Linked DNA regions of Homo sapiens: region 2 is linked to region 1. The links are contacts of gene promoters, found by promoter capture Hi-C in human tissues and cell types (Jung and others, 2019). All regions are on one chromosome and are shown on one strand. Each heading gives the region's core, a stretch centred on a gene start or on the middle of the fragment in contact. The rest is flanking DNA. Distances are from core to core; before and after follow the strand shown. Region 1 holds the start of BEND4 (BEN domain containing 4). Region 2 has its middle 34 kb from the start of BEND4.

Region 1 (2,992 bases), core at 251-2,750:
AGCTCCCCCATTTCTCACTTACGTGCCTAAGAAACATCTCCCTGGCATCTCATTCTCTTTCTCTTTCACCAGCATTTCATTATTTCTTAACTGTCCCTCTCATGCTTGTCTCCTTTTCCTAGTGATCCACGTGTCCTCATTTAGCAGTTTTCAGAAGCCAGGGAGAAACATTGCAAATAATGTTAAATATGATTAATATCTTGAATTCCTTGAAATATGACATGCATGAGTTACAATGAAACCTCTTTTATTTCCCCATGAAATGCTTTTGCATAATGAGAAAGAAAATGTCCTCTATGCCCTAATCAGCCCTGACAGTTCCTGGACTCCCAAATACTTATATTTATGGCATTATTTATTTCATCTCTAATAAATGGATTGGGGGGGGGACACAGCACCATCTGAGGAAGCTGCAGGAGAGAGGGAGACAATCTAGGGGGGAATAATACAGAAGCTGAACCAGCAAGGCAGAGAGAAAAAGCTTCCAAAGGGAAGGAGACCAGGGAAAGAGAGGCCAAAAGATGTGAACCCCCAGAAGAAAATGGGTCACCTTCCTAAGAATAAAAGGAAGGCTCTGAAAAGGAAACAAACTTCAGAGTGCAGAGATGAGGGTCCTACATCAAGGAGCATCCAGAACTCTGACCTGGAGAACGAAAAAGGAAGGCTGAAAAGCAAACCTGGGGCAGGGTATGCTGGTTGGCCTAGAAGAGGGGTGATTTGGGATAGGGAGCAATGGACCCTCTGCCCCAAAAAGTGGCTGGGAGAGACCAGGACATCTGCATCCCATGGAGGATCTTCCTCCCAACGACTGAGATCTCTCATTCAAACGGCTACTGAAATTGGGCACCCTCCAGACCCTCGCCGGATGGCGCCAGTTGCAGTGAGTAAAACAATGCAAGGAGTGAGTTCTCGTGTTTCCCTGGGCTTGCAAGTACATATACATATATTAAAAATGACACTGTTGAAAGTAATCATCACCTCAAAGGGAGGTATCAGGACATTTCCCCACTCAATTGCACAGAGGCTACTGGCTATGGGAAGTGAGGAGTTGACTTCAAATAACCTGGATGCGTCAGTGCAACACAGCCGCACACTCCCGAGTGTCTGACTTTGGGCAATTCCCTTCAACCTCTCAGAGCCTCGGTTTTCTCATCTTTATAATGGGGGGGAAATCATGGTGTCATGCACGTTCTCGGGGCCCCTACGGGAAACAAATGAAAACGTGAAAAAGTTCTACGCCTTGCGAGCTTTTATGTTCCGCATGAGCTCAGAGGCCGCGATGCTCGGGGAAAGCAGGACCCCAAAGCCCCGTAAACACCGCGCGACCACCCGGGCCAAGATCTTCAAGAGGTTCTTTTCAGAAGGATCGGAGAGCAATTCCCGATTGGTAGAAGAACTTGCTGTAATACACACGTACTCTGACGACCCCGCCCCAACGACTAGCCCCTCCTCTGTGCAACCCCGAGAGTTTGGGGTCATGCAGGGGGCGCCACGAGCTCGTTTCGGAAGCCGGACCCCGCCCGCAGCCGCAGAAGCCTCGAGTCCACATCTGGGTCTCTAAAGTCTCGCCGTAGCCAGATCCCGGATCCCCACCTTCTTCACCAGTTCCCGGGCGTCCTCCAGGTCCTCGCTTTCCCCCTTCCCCCGCTCCCCGTCGGAGGCGCGGAGCCGCCAGGCAGACCCCGCGGGCGGCTGCGGCGCCAGGCCCCGCCCCGCCCCCATTATCATTAGCAGATATTACCCTAAACACTTGCTCTTTACCTCCTTTCTCCCTCCAGGCATTGGCGAGGCAGCCTGTCAATCAGGAGCTCGGGCGGCAGCCCCCCGCGCGGGGGCTCGGCGATGCCAGCCTCAGCGACAGGCGGCGGCGGCGGCGGCCACGGCACAGACACACACCCTCCCACACGCGCGCACCAGGGCAGACCCGGCGGGCAGGCGGCGGAGGCACCCTCGGAGCCCGGCGCCCGGCGGGGAGGGGACGTGCTCCGAGGGACCGGCCCCGAGGCGCCGGATGGAGGAAGAGATGCAGCCGGCAGAGGAGGGGCCCAGCGTCCCCAAAATCTACAAGCAGCGCAGCCCCTACAGCGTCCTCAAGACGTTCCCCAGCAAGAGACCGGCGCTGGCCAAGCGCTACGAGCGACCCACCCTGGTGGAGCTGCCGCACGTGCGGGCGCCCCCGCCGCCCCCGCCGCCCTTCGCGCCGCACGCCGCCGTCTCCATCAGCAGCAGCGAGCCGCCGCCGCAGCAGTTCCAGGCGCAGAGCTCCTACCCCCCCGGGCCCGGCCGGGCCGCCGCCGCCGCTTCGTCGTCGTCGCCGTCCTGCACGCCCGCCACATCCCAGGGCCACTTGAGGACTCCGGCGCAGCCGCCGCCCGCGTCCCCCGCCGCCTCCTCGTCGTCTTCGTTCGCCGCTGTCGTCAGGTATGGCCCAGGCGCGGCGGCGGCCGCCGGCACCGGCGGCACGGGTAGCGACAGCGCCAGCCTGGAGCTCAGCGCAGGTACCAACTCTCCGCACAACTTTCCTTCCCGCCACGGCCGGGGGCAGCGGGAGGGGACCCAGGAAGGAGAAGCGGGGGGCCGCCGACACTTACCCGTGCTGGGCCGTGTCGGGATGTCGGGGCGCACCTGGGGCCTCCCCGCGCACCCGGAAACTTCGAGAGGATTCTCCAGCGCCGCCGCGCCTGGGCTTCCGACGGCGCGCGCCTAACAGGTGGCTCCGCGGCTTGGATCCCGCGCCGGGAAGCACGGCTGTGGCAGTCGGCGACCAGGATCGCTCGGGCGTGGTCCGGAGTGGGGCCAGACGCCCCCCCGGGGGATAGCGGCGGCCGCTCGGGAAGAAGCTGGAGCTTCTCGGGCCGCCCCGCTGGGACGCCCTCGTACTACTTCACTTTTTCCGTCTGCTTTTTCCCTTTCTCCTTCTTCCTCCATTTGTTTCTTCTTCTCTCCACTTCTCCTTTGCCTTCTAGTGCTTTCTTCGCCACCTCTTTGATGC
Region 2 (2,700 bases), core at 79-2,578, 34 kb before region 1:
GGCAGGAGAATGGCATGAACCCGAGAGGCGGAGCTTGCAGTGAGCCGAGATCGCGCCACTGCACTCTAGCCTGGGCGACGGAGTGAGACTCTGCCTCAAAAAAAAAAAAAAAAAAAAAGGAGTGTATTTTCGTAATTCACATAAAGTTACCATATAGACCAGTAGTGGCCGTAATAGTCACAATGCCAGATGCTTTATGTTATCTCATTGAATCACCATAAAACCTTACAAAATCATAAGATGAAGAAAACGAAGCTCAGGGAAGTTCACTAACTGATTAACAGTCAACCACACACTGGCAAGAAGCTAAGCTGAAATTTGCTTCCAGATCAGTGTGTACCAAAATCCAGGTTTCTCACTCCACCACGTTGCTTCTCACTGCAAATCCCGATCTAAAAGAGACACCACTAACATCAATTGTGCTTTGACTTTGCCTCAGACACTCTTCCAGGTGCTTTCACATACAACAGTGAGCTAGGTCTTACTAACTCTGTTAGAGAGCAGGAAATGGGCCTGAAAGGTTTACCCAAGGCCACACAGCTTAAGTTGTCCATTTACTGCCTCTTTCCTACTTTCTCCTTCTCCTCACACCACACTCCATCATCGAACGTTCCCACGTCTTATATCCACTTATCCTAGGCAATCCATAAACAAAAAACAGCCTTTCTCCCATTTACCATATAACTTATATCCCTTTAGCACAATCAACATCATCTAAAATCATTTACAAAGTGAATAAGATAGCAATTGTCTGATGATGCATTTGCTCTCAAAAAACAAATAAATGAAGATCAAGTTAGAAGTAAGCAAAAGCTTCATTTCAGGGAACAAATTTCTAGCTCTTCTTGATATATATAGTTTTTATTGGGTTGATTTATGTATTTCACCCTAAAGATGAATTTGACCCTCTATAAAGAACATACAAATTAATATTCACCCAAGATATGAATCTTTTTTCATTTTCATATTAGTGGAAATCAATTTGTTAAACTATTGTTGAGTGCAATTTGTTAATTTTTCACTCCTACTTTTCTGCCTAAGTTGAGGTATTTGGAAATATCTATATAAACACTTTCTGTCAATACTACCAAGATTTATATTGCCAAGTTACTGTAACTGTTGGCTCTGAGAGCACTATGAACTATGCCTTGCGATGTTAGATTCTATTGAACTTATGTAATAGAGAAGTGATCCATTTTTTTAAAAAGCTCACAATGATTTTTGTCTCCAGCAGGCAGTGTGTAGCAATGACTTCTAGGTTGAAGAGATACAACTAAAAAACTGGATGTGACCCTCTTAATAGGTACCTAGTCTAGTGTGCTGACATTTCCATGTATTCTTTTTTTTTTTTTTTGAGACGGAGTCTCGACCTGTTGCCCAGGGTGGAGTGCAGTGGTGCGATCTTCGCTCACTGCAAGCTCCGCCTCCTGGGTTCACGCCATTCTCCTGTCTCAGCCTCCTGAGTAGCTGGGACTACAGGCGCCCGCCACCACGCCTGGCTAATTTTTTGTATTTTTAGTAGAGACGGGGATTCGCTGTGTTAGCCAGGATGGTCTCGATCTCCTGACATCGTGATCTGCCCGCCTCGGCCTCCCAAAGTGCTGGGATTATAGGCTTGAGCCACCGCGCCTGGCCTCCACGTCGTCTTTAACCCATTTCCTATGGTGGTCACTAAGCAGCTCGCTGCACCAACAACCCCACTTAGTTAGAGCCTAAGAATTGGGATTTATTCAGAAGTCTCTCTCTCTCTCTCTCTCATAGTTGGCTAGGGCTGCTGTAACAAAGTATTGCAAATGGAGTGGCTTAAACATCAGAAATGTATTGTCTCACAGTTCTGGAGACTAAAAGAAAATCAAGACATCAGCAAGGCCAAGTTCCCTCTGAAGGTGCCAGGGAAGGGTGTCTTCCAGGCCTCTCTCCTGGCTCCTGGTGGTTGCTGGCAATCTTTGGCCTTCCTTGGCTTCTAGACACATCACTCTGAGTTCTGCCTTCATGTTCATATGGCCTTCTCTCTGTTTGCATGTCTGTGTCCAAATTTTTCTTTTTTATAAGAACAGCAGTCATGTTGAATTAGAGGCCTACCCCATTCCAGTTTCACCTCATCTCAACTAATCACATCTGCAAAGACTTTATTTCCAAATAAGGTCATATTCTGAGGTACCAGGGGTTAAGACTTCAACAAATGAATTTTGGGTGACACCATTCAACCCACGCACTTTCATAATCTTCAACATACAAACATACTCTTCCGTCTCCTTTCTTATAAATGCAGTCGTGCGTCACTTAAGGATGAGGATATGTTCTGAGAAATGCATCATTAGGTGATTTAATCGTACTTACACAAACCTAAATGTAGAGTCCGCTACACACCTAGGCTATATAATACAGCCTACGGTATCTAAGCTGCAAACCTGTACCGCAGGTGACTGTACTGAATACTGCAGACAACTGTAACAAATCATAAGTATTTGTATATTTAAATATTATATTAGTCTGTTCTCCCATTGTTATAAAGCAATTACCAAAACTGGGTAATTTATAAAGAAAAGAGGTTTAATTGGCTCATGGTTCTGGAGGCTGTCCAGGAAGCATAATGGCTTCTGCTACTGGGGTGGCCTCAGGAAACTTACAATCATGGCGGAAGGTGAAGGGGAAGCAGGCACGTCTCACAAGGCTGCAGCCATGAGAGAGATGAGATAG

What was found. The method cuts DNA at HindIII sites, captures the fragments that hold promoters and counts their contacts. A contact is called where the count stands out against the background at its distance.
Region 2: a fragment that was not itself captured here is called in contact with the fragment with the promoter of BEND4 in region 1 in 2 of the 25 tissues and cell types used here (hippocampus and mesendoderm cells).

What each region holds. Positions count from the first base shown.
Region 1 is chr4:42,151,163-42,154,154 of GRCh38, reverse strand. BEND4 (BEN domain containing 4) reads left to right here and starts at 1,500. Exons shown (of 6, transcript NM_207406.4): 1 at 1,500-1,623; 2 at 1,779-2,498. The coding sequence starts at 2,012. RefSeq lists silencers at 1,808-2,127, 2,328-2,417 and an enhancer at 2,183-2,992. The HindIII fragment of the contact is 6,033 bases long and covers 1-2,992 here.
Region 2 is chr4:42,185,285-42,187,984 of GRCh38, reverse strand. No RefSeq gene overlaps it. Among named protein-coding and RNA genes, the nearest start is that of BEND4, 34 kb to the right of the region's middle. The HindIII fragment of the contact is 4,180 bases long and covers 1-2,700 here.